Linked DNA regions of Homo sapiens: regions 2 and 3 are each linked to region 1. The links are contacts of gene promoters, found by promoter capture Hi-C in blood cells and fetal thymus (Javierre and others, 2016). All regions are on one chromosome and are shown on one strand. The core of a region is centred on a gene start or on the middle of the fragment in contact, and the rest is flanking DNA. Distances in the headings are between cores, read along the strand shown.

Region 1 (4,724 bases), core at 755-3,254:
CCAGCACATTAGTCTTTCTCCGGACTACTTTGAAAGGCCAGTCATCTAAAATGCAAACCTTCTCATACCTTGCACCCTCTTAAAATCTACCAGTGGATTCACATCATCTGTAGGACTAAATCTAAACTGGGATGTGCGACTTTGCCCCTGCTTATGGCTTCATTCCCCAGTTCCTGTCTTAGCCTACGGCCATTGTGAATTATTTCCAAATTCACCAGCATTCTATGCTCTCACACCTCTGTCCTTTGTCCATATTCTTTTCTCTTCCCAAGGCACCTTTCTGCATCTTCTCTGCTTGGCTAACTTCTTCTACTCAACCTTTGAGAATCAAAGACTTAGCTCTAGAATCACCTCCTTCCAAAAGTTTCCTGAAAAGTTTTTCCAGGTGTTTCTATGACTTCCTTATATAATTCCATCATTATACAGATGCTCCTTGAGTTATGTCCTGATAAACCCATTTTAAGTCAAAAATATATGTTGAAAATGCATTTTACTCTAATAAGCCCATTGTAATGAGAAAAAAATCATAAGTTAAACCATCAGTCAGGAACCATCCATTCTTAGTTGAGCGAGTGTCCTTTCTCCCTTGAGAAGAAGGATGTGCATTTTTGTGCATTTTTATGTTTTTTGTTTTTTTTGTTTCTTTTTCTTTTTTTTTTTTTTGAGGCAGGGTCTTGCTCTGTCTCCCAGGCTGGAATGCAATTGTGTAATCTCAGCTCACTATAACCTCCGCCTCCTGGGCGCAAGCCATCCTCCTGCCTCAGCCTCGTGACTAGCTAGGACTACAGGCGCATGCCACACACCCTGCTAATTTTTCTATTTTTTGTAGAGACGGGGTTTCACCATGTTGCCCAGGCTGGTCTCTAAGTCCTGAGCTCAGGTGATCTGCCTGCCTCGGCCTCCCAAAGTGCTGGGATTACAGGTGTGAGCCACTGCGCCTGGTCCATTTTAGCTGTTACCACAACACCCATCACCATTGCTGGCACATGGTAGGCAATCAATAATAATTTTTTTTCAAATTAATACATGAAAACTATTAGGAAAGAAGTAAAAAAATAACATAGCTATAAAGCTCTTTGAATGTTAGGTTATTGGGAAAAGCTGTGGAAAGCCAAGGATTTTCTTTCTCAAATTTATTTTTAGAATATTTTTTTCTACACAAAAGACCACAGATAAGGCAGAGAAAGATAAGAAAAAGACCACAAGCCCAAGGACTTGGAATTTGAATCATAAAGGTTCATTCTAGACTTGGGCAATATCTAGAACTTCTAGAACAATCAGTTTTCTAGAACATAGAAAAGATATTACCTTGGTGTTAGCTTTAACTCCTGCCAAATAATGCTTTAAATTATTTAAACTTTAAAAAGGTGTGTCAATGTATACATTGCAGGTAAATTCATGTTCCAGTAACTTTTGTTTTCTTTGTATGTTAAAAATCTAACTGTGGAAAACATTCTAGCTTGGTTTGAGAGTCCAATAATACAAAATGCTTTATTTCCTAAAATTGTTTGAGAGAAAACCAAAATGCTACCACACTGCAACAAAATACTAAAGAATTATTTGCTATGTCAGTTGACATATTTTTATTTAGATTTTGCCTAAGATGCCACATGAAGCCTATATAAGACATTCTTTCCCTAAAACTTACATATGTATGTACATATATATATATAATGTTTTACATCCTAAACAGTCTACTTCACGTCTTCACCAAATGTGCAGCAGCGTGATTCACAGGTTCACCACTGGAAAATAGACCTTAAAATTCCGCCAATATTGGGTCAAAGATCTTACACTATAACACATACTACACTGTGGGCACGGATCAACAGACGAGAATACTTTATACAGAAGCTTCTCGACGGAAGAAGGCCTTGGAGTGGGAAATCTAAAGGAGGGGACACACTACATGTCCCAGCACACCTTGCGACGCCCAGCGACCACAATTCCCAGAACGCACTGCTCGTCGCACGCAGGTTTTCCTTGTTGCCGGGGTTTGTAGTTCTTCTCGATCGTGTCAGTTTGTAAGGCGAGGGCGGAAGTTGGATTCCTGGCCTGAGAATATTAGGCGTAGTTTTCCAGTTTTTGGCAAAGCGGAAATACTTAAGGCCCCTGGGTTGACTGGGTTCTTTGTTTTATCTACCGGCTTCTGCTTTACGACAGGTAAGTCACGGAGGGGCTACAATTCCTCGCAGCAGGGCCCCACCTTTTATTTCTGGGAGCGACCTCGTTCTGGTGAGGCTATTTGTCCCTAAGCTCTCGCCGTAGCAGCCGCCGCCCATCCCTCTTTGTGTGCTTTGGAAAGCCGCGGAGCTGGTGGTGGCTACAGTTGGTGTTGGGGGCTTAGGCGAGGGACGTTACCGGGAAGTTGCAGGCGGGAGGACTCTTCCCCATCCAGTCACCTGACAGGTGGGTTGACTGTTCTTCCCTCAAGGCCTCCCTGCCTGTGTTCCACGTCGCAACTCGAAGGGCGGCTTGGCAGTTCCTGCTGACATCCCCGCCCGGCCCAGCTTTGGGGAGGAAAGGCGGGGAGACCTGGGTGCGGTGACTCATTGCGGCCCGGCGAGAGGAGTCCACTCCTTTCCCTTCTCGACCCTCCAGAGGCGGCCTGGGGAGCCTTGAGGCTTGTCCGGCGCCCACTGGCTTCTTCCGGACGCCCTGCCGTGGACCGCGCCCTCTTGGCCGTGACCCCAGGGGAGAAAGTGATTCGTTTTCGCCTTGCCCCATTTTACAAATTAAGGCCATCTCTACTTGCCTTGATAGTGTCTCCCCTCACCTTATGTGTGATGGAAAGCCCCCGAACACGGAGGTTCTAGCACAAAACTCTAGAGACTCTCTTCTCTTGAGTTTTAAGAACGTGAACATGTCGGTCATGGAGGAAGGCTCTGGCTTCTGTGAGGATGAGAGGATTGGTCAGCTGTAGTTCAGCTGGTCAAGACTTTGTTGTTGGGCTTTAAAAATGCGCTTATTTTAATATCAATTAGTGTTGGTATATCTGTTTTACAGTTGACGTTGAACAAAATATAATGTGCCTAGCGTAGCATACAGTTACGTATGGAAGTTCTCTTCACCAGCCGTTTGTATGGAGCTGTTTAGAGGTGTAGAAAGAGTGGAATAAGAAACACGGTCTCTTGCTTTTAGTTTGTTCAAACAAATCTTGGAAGATATTGTGTATATATTTCAGGTCTGCTATGTCAACTTTTCATCCTTTTCGTATGCTTGAAAATTATCAATTCGCTTGCCAGTCTTAATGGAGTTTAGTAGCTGAAATTTCCTTTATCCACTTCTTAGTAGGTGAATTTCTCCTCTTGACTGACTTACCTTTGTTCAGATTTAACAATTGTGCTTTTTAAGAGATTTCCCCTAACCTCTGGAAATACAGTTTTCCAGAGGTTATTCTCCTAGTTTTCTTGATCTAAAGCATTTAATACTTCACTTGTACAGAGACATTGAAAGAGATTGATCATTAGGCAATAAGTCAATCATGTGGAGAAGGTAAGGAGTTCCTGGCTCCTGCCTTATGCTCAGCTGCTAGGCTACTTAAAAAAAAAAAATCCTAATTCATTATTTCTTCCTAAAACTCAAGCTGAAGTAGTGTTTATGCAATTGGTTTTTGAAGCTCAGATTGTAATTGTGTCTACCGTATCCATTATTCATTAGCCAGTGTCAATTGTAATGTTAAGGTCATTCTGCTGGATGTTGTGAAGGCAACAAAAATAACTAAAAAACAGTCCCTGATTTCAAGTACATTACAATCTAATAGGGAACATTTCAGGTATGTCCACAAATAATTGTACTAAAAGTGCCATCAGAGGTATACGTAAGGTGTTATTGTGGAGAAATACAGTCATATGATTTGATAGCTAATGATGGTAACTCCTGCGTTTTGCTTTAGTATTACTACAGCACTTTTAGAACTTACAGGAAAGTTCAGTTTGACCTATTGTTTTTTATCAAGTTTCTATGAATGCAATAGAATTGGTAATAGTTTTGATCTGTGTCATATAGCTTAAGAGCTTCTAAATGCCAAACCATGTCCTCTGTTTTAAGAGCCAGTTTTGACCTTTATCTTGGGTACCTAATATATTGTCATCAAAAACTTTGAGACATTGTGTTCAGTTTGTGTATGCGAACATTAAAGTGCTTACTATGGGCTAGCTACTATGCTCAGCTCTAGGTAATATTTATTATATATATTTGTTTATACATTTTTTAAGTCTTAGTAATAATATATATGCTTCCTTTATTTTATCTTTTAAAAGTTTATTTTTTAGAGACGCTCTGTTGCCCAAGCTGGAGTGCAGTGGCATGATCACGGCTCACTGCAGCCTTGACTTCCTGGGCTCCAGCAATCCTTCCAAGTAGTTGGGACTACAGGCACATGCCACCATGCCGCCTAATTTTTTATTTTTCTTGCCTTTTTTTTTTTTTTTTTTTTTTTTGTAGAGATGGGGTCTTGCTTTGTTGCCCAGGCTGGTCTCAAACTCATGGCCTGAAGCAGTTCTCCCACTTTAGCCTCCCAAAGTAAGCTACTGCCCAGCCCCATTATTTTAAAAGTAAGGTTTTTGTGCTTTTTTGAGATAGCATTGAACTATATGGCCTTTCGGGACAGTTCTCTTCTTGGAACACTAGTTTTTTCAACTGTGCTGCTTTTACTAACATAATGATTATATGTTTCTAAGGTCACAAACATGTCAGACAAAAGTGAATTAAAGGCTGAGTTG
Region 2 (4,724 bases), core at 1,097-3,596, 1.0 Mb after region 1:
CTGGCTTAATAAATAATTTATTTTCTTATTGCTAAAATTAATATATATGTATTTGTTCAAATATTCTGTTTTTCAGATTTACTTCTACCTGTGATATTGCTAAATGGAATTTTATTCACATTCAGCAGTTGAATAAATCTAAAATACAGAGGTAAAAATAGACATTGAAAAACTGTGATTCTGAGCCTCAGATCACTAAAATGATATTTTCATGTTGCTAAGAAACAGTTTCTATTTAATTGGAACAAAACTTCATCAATGTTTTCTGTTTCTCTCAGTTCTGTGAAGTAATCCCTTACAGTCCAATAAAATTAAAACCTGAGTGTGGATTGGAGTACTCGTATTTATTTAGAGATGTAGAGATTCCTACCTGGGGTAAACAGCCTCCAAGATGGCACCCAGTGATCTGCACTTCCTGTTATTCACAGCCTGTGGAGTCCCTCCTACATTGTACCAGGGTTGGCCAATGGAATATGGCAGAAATGATGGTATCTCACATCCAAGACTACATTATCAAAGAACTGCTTACGGCTTTTCTCTCATTGCTCACTCTAGGGGAAACCATGTTGTGAGAGACCCATGTATGGCTGAACTAAACCTGTGTGCATGTGAGTGAAGCAGAGCCTCAAGCTCCAGATGGATCTTGAGATGGCTGCAGCCTGGCTTGACTGAAACCTCATGGATGACCTCGAGCCAGAACAACCGGGCTAAACTGCTTCCAGATTCCTGACCCTCAGAAACAGTGAAATAATAAACGCTTGTTGTTTTAAACTGCTAAATGTTGGGGTAATTGGTTGTGTAATAACAGATAAACTAATAAACTACCTTTAGTTACTACGCTTCCTATTAAACCTGTTACTTAAACTATATCCTTGGCTAAAATACTTGTTACTAAAATACCTGATTAAGTTGGACTAATTTTCTTTTTTTGAGACAGAGTCTTGCTCTGTTGCCCAGGCTGGAGTGCAGTGGCGTAATGTCGGCTCACTGCCTCCTGGGTTCAAGCGATTCTCCTGCCTCACCTCCCGAATAAATTGTTCTTTATTCCAAGCCTATTAGTATTTTGAAGTAGAACATTGCTTTGCCATTAAGGAAATATGCCCTAAATTGGTAGTTCTTGATGGTGGTGTTTCCACTCTCCTCCTACCCAAGGACAACCTAGAGCTATGTGAGGGGCTTTTTTTGGTTGTCAAAATGATTAATGGAGCTCACTGGCCTCTAGTAGGTGGGAGCTAAGGGTGTTAGACATCCGGTAATGTGTAAGACACTTCATTTTAAGATAGCAAAGGAAACATTACAAAACATTTGTTTTATAAAAAGGGTGTTATTCCAATAGAGCTGAGAGCTACCAGATTGAAGAGAGGAATGTCCTGCTTTTCCTGGGGAAGGGTAAATGAAATCTGCTGATCTTTTTTTGAGATGATTCATAATGGAAAAGTAGAAGAAACCAGGAATTTGTCACATGGAATGTAATTTGCTGAAAAATTTGAATATAAGAATGTAAAATTTGTAATCATAAAAATTCCATTTGAAATGGTATTTTCTAAAAAGAGAAATCAGCCTTTAGTTTTAGGTAACAGGTTAGTTTGAGACAGGTAAAATTCCACACTCATGGAAGGAAATAATGAAGCTAGTGAAATGAAGAGATGTTCTCACTGCCCTTTAGCATCCTAAACTGGGGAAATCCAAAATTATGAAAGGAAGGCAAAGTAAAAAACTTCCATAAAAAATGAAACCATATTTTGTTACAATTTTCATTTTCATGTAGATATAAAAATATGCATGTTATTGAAATGATCAGAGATTGATTAGATGTGGCTCACAAAAATTGAGATCTGTAAGATATATTTTAGAAAAAGTTAGTTCTTTTAATATAGCATTCAGAGTAATTTGTCTTTGATGTTAAATACACTTTAAATCAAATGTGATGTAGTATATTGTAGGCTTATAGAATTTGTTTTAGCAAACAGAATATGTTGAGTGAGTTTGTATTTTCTGGAGTGATTCCGTTTGGGGTGATAAGGCAAGGTCTCATGGGGAAGGCCCTAGGAAAGGGTAGGGGATGTTCTGGGCCAAAATACAATAGACCATAAGCATCATCTTCTTGTAAGGCAATATAATAGAGGATTGAAAAAGTCAGGAAGCCAGAGTCCCTGTCTTTATTTATCTTTTTATGTGTTTACTTATTATTTTTGTGAAGTATATGTTTATATATTTTAAAAATCACCTTTCTAAATGTACAGTTCTATGAGTTTGGACAAAAGCATAAAGTTGTACAACTACCACTACATTCAAGATATTGAACAGTTCCATCACCCCCAAAATTGGTTTTTTTTAGTCAAAACCTCTACCCCAGTTCTTAGCAAGCTCTGATCTATTTACTGTCTTTATAATCTGGCCTTTTCTAGAAGGTACTAAAAATTAGATCATTATATAGCTCCTCTAGTCTTTTTCCTCTTATTTAGCATAATACATTAGAGATTTATCCACGTTGCTGCATGTGACAGCAGTTCATGCTTTTACTGCTGAGTAGTACTCCATTGCATAGATGTACTACACTTTATCCATTCACCAGCTGAAAGACAATTGGGTTGTTTCCAGCATTTGGAGGTTATGAATAGTCACTATAAATAGTCGTGTACAGGTTTTTGGTTGAAAATAGGTTTTTATTTCTCTTTGGTAAATGGTTAAGAGAGGATAGCTAGATCATACTGTATGTTTAGCTTTATTAAAAAAAACTTACCAACTATATTCTGAAGTGGCTGTATTATTTCATATTTTCATTAGCAATGTATGATGGTTCCAGTGCTCCACATCCTGGTCATCATGTGGTTCAGCTGGTCTTTTTAAGTTTAAACATTCTGTTAGGTATGTAGTGATGTCTCAGTGGGTTTTTATTTGGTGTCATACATAAGAAATCTTTGTTTATCTTTGTTCCCATCTTGCTTTATTTCCAGTTTCCAATATATGTTTATTTCCAGTTTCCAATATATGTTTATTTCCAATATATGTTTCCAATATATGTTTATTTCCAGTTTCCAATATATGTTTATTTCCAGTTTCCAATATATGTTTTCTTACAGTTTTCATCTCTCTGCTGAAATTCCATATTGGTTCATGCACATTGTCTGCCTTCTCCATTTAGAGCCTTTAACATATTACTAATGGTTATTTCAAATGGCTTGTGTGATAGTTCCAGCATCTGAATCATCTCTGAGTTTTGTTCTGTTGATCACTTCATCTCAGGACAGTGGGTTACTTTACCTATCTTATTGTCTTATTATTTTTGACTGAATACCAGACATTGTTTGCAGGACAGCAGAGGCTGAAACAAACAATATATATGATTGGAAATGAGCATGTCTCTTCTTCTGCTAGGCTATTTGTATAGGGGTTGAGTTTATCTAGTTAGCAGTTGAGCAGGTTTTGTTGCTGCTTGGGTGTCAAAGAGCTTTTCTCTCTCTCTCTCTCTCTCTTTTTTTTTTTTTTTTGAGACAGAGTCTTGCTTTGTCCCCCAGGCTGGTGTGCAGTGGTACAATCTCAGCTCACTGCAACCTCTGCCTCCTGGATTCAAGTGATTCTCATGCCTCAGCCTCCCCGATAGCTGGGATTACAGGCATGCGCCACCAAACTGGGCTAATTTTTGTATTTTTAGTAGAGGCGAGGTTTCACCGTGTTGGCCAGGCTAGTCTTGAATTCCCGACTTCAAGTAATCCGCCCACCTCGGCCTCCCAAAGTTCTGGGTTTACAGGCGTGAGCTACTGCACCTGGCTGAGATTTTCTCAATGTTGCTGCTCTACCCCCAGCTTTCAGCCTTTCCTGTGTTGTAGCACCACAAAAGGGATCTATCTTCCCAAGGAATGGACTGCTATTGCTTGTTACCCAGTATTGCAAGCTCAGTTGTTTTGTTCCTGTGTGATCCTACTTCTCCTTTTCAAGGCAGCCAAACTGCCTTGCATCTTTGGCAAATCTTCTATGGGACTTCCCTGTACCTGCCCAGTAGTAGGAGACTTCTATTAGTAATGGTGTAGGATCCTGAGCCCAGGACTGTTCCTTGCTCTTCCAATAATGACAAGGTTTTGTTTTGTTTTGTTTTGTTTTCTCTTTCTCTAGCTGTAATGGGTTTTCATCTAGTCTTGGAGATATGAAGTTTCTGGTTCTTCCCCCAAGGCTAGAGGCTTTTGTTCCTTGAGAAAGCATCTAAGGAGGGCTTTGTGACTTTCCTTCAGCAACTGCACTCCCCTCCTCCAGGCCTGCACCACCAAGGAAGACTCCCTCTGGTCCCCCACCCTCACCCAGTCTTTCTCATGAGCACCAAATGGAAATCTGTGAAGACGATCTTGTAAGTGTGAACTGCTTCTCTGTCTGTGGCTCCCAGACAAACCTGTACTGTCACACTAGTTCACAGTCAGACTTCTGCAATTTGTTAGAAATTTTAGCAAATCCTTCCTACTTGTTTGATGGCAACCGGCATCTCTTCTTCCTGTGTTCTGCCGAAGGTGAGACAGAGCTTGTACCCTGTATTCTTAGAGACGCCTTGGATTTCAAGCTACCTAGTTGCCCTATGGCCTTAACTATCTGATGGGTTCAAGAAAAATTATGAGTTTGTATTTTATCTGTAGTTTTTCTTATTTCTAGGGTGGAAAAGGTGTTTTTGTTTGCTTTCTACATCCTAGGTAGAAGTAGAACTCCCATTGTATCTTTTTGTTGTTGTTTTGAGACAC
Region 3 (4,724 bases), core at 927-3,426, 1.0 Mb after region 1:
GGGGTTCTAATGATCTTAGGTGACTTTTTGTTTCTATCAAATTACCTCCAAAATTCCATACCACCTCATTCGATGCTGAACAGACAGCTGCACGTGGCTATTTTCAGCATCGTATTGCTGCTCAAAAAAATCTTCGTTGTCTCCAATGCCTGTGAAATCCAGTTTAAATTCCTGTTTTGCATTCACATTTCCAATTTTGTTCAACATACATCCTATGCTCCTGAGAAATCAACCTCAAACAAAATTTACAGGGTTTCTACAAAATTCCAGGAGCTGTGTTAAGTGCTGGATATTTAAATTTAACCACTGAAGACTTGTATGATGTAGTTTCACCACTGAAGTGCTATTTCATTTAAAGAAACAGAGTCTAAGTAGGCCAAAATATCATAAAAAAGGAATTTCACTCTTTAGTAAAGTCTCTCAAAGGATATCAACAGGAATCGTGGCCCTAGAAACACAGCCCAGCACCTGTGGCAGCCATAGAGATACACTGCTAAGATCTCCCTTTGAGAAGTGAAGCCAGCTGGATTTCCTGGGTCAAGGCGGGGACTTGGAGAACTTTTCTTACAAGAGGTTTGTAAAATGCACCAATCAGTGCTCTGTAAAAATGCACCAATCGGCGCTTTGTAACTAGCTAGAGGTTTGTAAAATGCACCAATCAGTGCTCTGTAAAAACACCAATTAGCGCTCTGTAGCTAGCTGGAGGTTTGTAAAATGGACCAATCAGCACACTGTAAAATGGACCAATCAGTGCTCTGTAAAATGGACCAATCAGCACTCTGTAAAATGGACCAATCAGCAGGACATGGGCGGGGACAAATAAGGGAATAAAAGCTGGCCACCCCAGCCTGCAGCAGCAACCTGCTTGGGCCACTTTTTACGCTGTGGAAGCTTTGTTCTTTTGCTCTTCACAATAAATCTTGCTGCTGCTCACTGTCTGCTGCTCACAATAAATCAGCTGTGCCACCTTTAAGAGCTGTAACATTCACTGCAAAGGTCTGCAGCTTCATTCTTGAAGTCGGTGAGACCAGGAACACACCAGAAAGAACCAACTCCGGACACATCTTGATCTAAATCCATTTATGTGTCTATCTATCTATATATCTACCTATCTGCTATCTATCATGATCCAAATAAGATTACTATTATTAGACAACTAAAATGAACTTAATCACATACCATCTGTCTTTGATATCATCTTTAAAAATCACACCTAATTTTTTAGGAAGAGAATAACATATGCACTACTGTTTTATATAACAATTTTTAGGAATATAAGCACTTTTTGTATGGTTGAGCTCATTCATAAGAAGTATTTAAGCTTGTTTTGAAACAATAATACCCATGTAAACTAACAATATATTATATAGTAATATGTAGAAGTTGTAAAGAGAAACATACAATTTAATGAACTCTATTTCCTGCCTCCTTCCCAAATATATTTTATTTGATTTTAATTGGAATCAGGCCAATTACTAATGAGGTTGAATATCTTTTTATATGTTTATTGTCTATATTGTTTCTTCTCTGTAAAATACTAATTCCTGTCTTTCCTCATTTTCCTATGAAATTATCATTTATTTATTTAAGAAGTTTTTTTTTTTAAAAAAACATATTCTGGATTATACTCCTTTGTTGTTAAATGCATCACAAATCCTTCTCTGAATATGTGTCCTATCTTTTTACATTTTTAGGGCATCCTCCAAGTTTTCCTGGGAATATTAGAAGAGGGAAGTTAGAAGGATGAACTATAGCTCCTGTTTCTGTAATTGGTCTCAGGGTCACACTTCATACTCATCCTCTTTTTCCCCATTATCCATTCTAAATCCCTACCCCCCAACTTCAGCTATCACCTCATCAAGGCATGGTGGATTACATGGTGGTGTTTCCCAAACCTTCATTCCGAGGGGTCTGAGCGCTTGGTTTATCATATCTTTCTCAGGCTGGGGTTGCTATAAATGTCCACAGTTACAGCTGGGCAAGAGAATAGCAGGAGGTGTCCAGGTGGATCATTTGGGTTCACACATATTCCTCTCTGCCTGCATTGTGTAAAATCAGCCTGACCTTCTCTTGCTAATGGGAGTCAATTGCCCCGACAAGATGGGGACTCCTCTTCTTGCCTGCTGCCCACTGAACACAAAGACTTCCAAGTGAGGTGGCAGCAGCCATAGATTGCAGTTCAGTGGAAGCCTTACCAAGTCCCCCTGCACAGGGATCCCCTTTTGGGAGCAAGGACCTCCTACCCTGCAAAGTCCAGAATTGTGGGGACAAGAAGCACATAATCCCACAGTGGGTCAATTAAGAATGATGGCAATTGGGACTACTTTTGCTTTCACCCTTGGTTTCCAGACACATATATTTTTCCTTGAGAGGACACACTGCCATAGAGTTCTCTATTTAAAACATGTAGGACAGGATAGCACCTATCCTTGCAGAGTATGACCTCTGAGCATTCCAGCTAATCCTTCAGTAGGCTGTTGCAGTCTTTTGTGAAGCAGCTCCTTCTGGATTGTGCCAGAAGTATGTGATATGTATGGATGGATGTGTGTGATCCCACTCCCATACCTCCTGCACTGTGTAGTAAGAGCCCTGGTCAGATGCTCTTTGTGTGGGATCCCAGAGCACCAATGTTGAAATCCTTAGCAATTAGGTTAACTACCTTGTGCCAGGGATTATTGTGCCTGATGTTTCCCTCATGACTGTGTTCTCCTTGCCAGCTGGGTGGTGTGTGAACCAGTCCCAAGCCCCATCTTACTGACTGTTGTCTTGGACCACTCTTGGTAGCACTTGTGTTAGTTTGCATCCTCTAAGGAGCAGACCCCAACGTGGGATTTGATATGCAAGAGGCATTCAAAATGCCTATAAAGGATAAAGGAGGAGGGAGCAGGAAGAGGCAGAAGAGTCTTTAGACCATTTGCAGGTCTAATATCTGGGAAAGGAGAGAAGGAAGGAAGATAGGGAGAAAATTAGCCTCAGTGCACTCCCCCTAGCACCTGTACCTAGGCCATTCACTGGCTGAGTGCAACCCAGAGTAAGCTTGACCTCAGTGTGAACACTGTTGAATCCCACATGGCAGCCAGAGGCTGTCAGTCAACTATCTTCCCCACAGCATCTTCTGCTGAAGGTGTGTCCAGAGTTGGTTCCTTCCAGTGGGTTCATGGTCTCGCTGACTTCAAGAACGAAGCCACAGACCTTCATGGTGAGTGTTACAGCTCTTAAAGGTGGCCCGGACCCAAAGAGTGAGCAGCAGCAAGATTTATTTTGAAGAGTGACAGAACAAAGCTTCCACAGCATGGAAAGGGACCCGAGTGTGTTGCCACTGCTGGCTAGAGTGGCCAGCTTTTATTCCTGTATTTGTCCCCACCCATGTCCTGCTGATTGGTCCATTTTACAGAGCGCTGATTGGTCCATTTTACAGAGTGCCGATTGGTCCATTTTACAGTGTGCTGATTGGTCCATTTTACAAACCTCTAGCTAGCTACAGAGCACCGATTGGTGCATTTTTACAGAGCACTGATTGGAGCATTTTACAAACCTCTTGTAAGAAAAGTTCTCCAAGTCCCCTCTTCAAGGAGAACTACAAACCACTGCTCAAGGAAATAAAACAGGACACAAACAAATGGAAGAATATTCCATGCTCATGGATAGGAAGACTCAATATCGTGAAAATGGCCATATTGCCCAAAGTAATTTATAGATTTAATGCCATCCCTATCAAGCTACCAATGACTTTCTTCACAGAATTGGAAAAAACTACTTTAAAGTTCATATGGAAACAAAAAAGACCTTGCAGTGCCAAGACAATCCTAAGCAAAAAGAACAAAGCTGGAGGGATCATGCTACCTGATTTCAAACTACACTACAAGGCCACAGTAACCAAAACAGCATGGTACTGGTACCAAAACAGAGATATAGACCAATGGAACAGAACAGAGGCCTCAGAAAAAATACCACACATCTACAACCCTCTGATCTTTGACAAACCTGACAAAAACAAGAAATGGGCAAAAGATTCTCTACTTCATAAATGGTGCTGGGAAAACTGGCTAGCCATATGTAGAAAGCTGAAACTGGATCCCTTCCTTACAACTTATATAAAAATTAATTCAAGATGGATTAAAGACTTAAATGTTAGACCTAAAACCATAAAAACCCTAGAAGAAAACCTGGACAATACCATTCAGGACATAGGCATGGGCAAGGACTTCATGTCTAAAACACCAAAAGCAATGGCAACAAAAGCCAAAATAGAGAAATGGGGTCTAATTAAACTAAAGAGCTTCTGCACAGCAAAAGAAACTACCTTCAGAGTGAACAGGCAACCTACAGAATGGGAGAAAATTTTTGCAATCTACCCATCTGACAAAGGGCTAATATCCAGAATCTACAAAGAATTCAAACAAATTTACAAGAAAAAAACAAACAACCGCATCAAAAAGTGGGCAAAGGATATGAAAAGACACTTCTCAAAAGAAGACATCTATGCAGCCAACAGACACATGAAAAAATGCTCATCGTCACTGATCACCAGAGAAATGCAAATCAAAACCACAATGAGATACCATCTCACACCAGTTAGAATGGCAATCATCAAAAAGTCAGGAAACAACAGATGCAGGAGAGAATGTAGAGAAATTGGAACACTTTTACACTGTTGGTGGGAGTGTAAATTAGTTCAACCATTGTGGAAGACAGTGTGGCGATTCCTCAGGGATCTAGAACTA

The links. The method cuts DNA at HindIII sites, captures the fragments that hold promoters and counts their contacts. A CHiCAGO score of 5 or more calls a contact.
Region 2: a contact is called between a fragment that was not itself captured here and the fragment with the promoter of DYNC1I2 in region 1, in 2 of 17 cell types (naive CD4 T cells and naive CD8 T cells). The highest score is 5.9, in naive CD4 T cells.
Region 3: a fragment that was not itself captured here is called in contact with the fragment with the promoter of DYNC1I2 in region 1 in 3 of 17 cell types (naive CD4 T cells, total CD4 T cells and non-activated CD4 T cells); the score reaches 6.5 in naive CD4 T cells.

The regions. Positions count from the first base shown.
Region 1 is chr2:171,685,465-171,690,188 of GRCh38, forward strand. It overlaps DYNC1I2 (dynein cytoplasmic 1 intermediate chain 2), which reads left to right and starts at 2,005. Exons shown (of 18, transcript NM_001378.3): 1 at 2,005-2,163; 2 at 4,683-4,724. The coding sequence starts at 4,692. RefSeq lists an enhancer at 2,006-2,175. The HindIII fragment of the contact is 4,493 bases long and covers 1,853-4,724 here.
Region 2 is chr2:172,716,642-172,721,365 of GRCh38, forward strand. It overlaps a transcript of PDK1 not described here. Among named protein-coding and RNA genes, the nearest start is that of RAPGEF4, 17 kb to the right of the region's middle. The HindIII fragment of the contact is 6,831 bases long and covers 1-4,724 here.
Region 3 is chr2:172,685,743-172,690,466 of GRCh38, forward strand. It overlaps a transcript of PDK1 not described here. Among named protein-coding and RNA genes, the nearest start is that of RAPGEF4, 48 kb to the right of the region's middle. The HindIII fragment of the contact is 1,715 bases long and covers 1,320-3,034 here.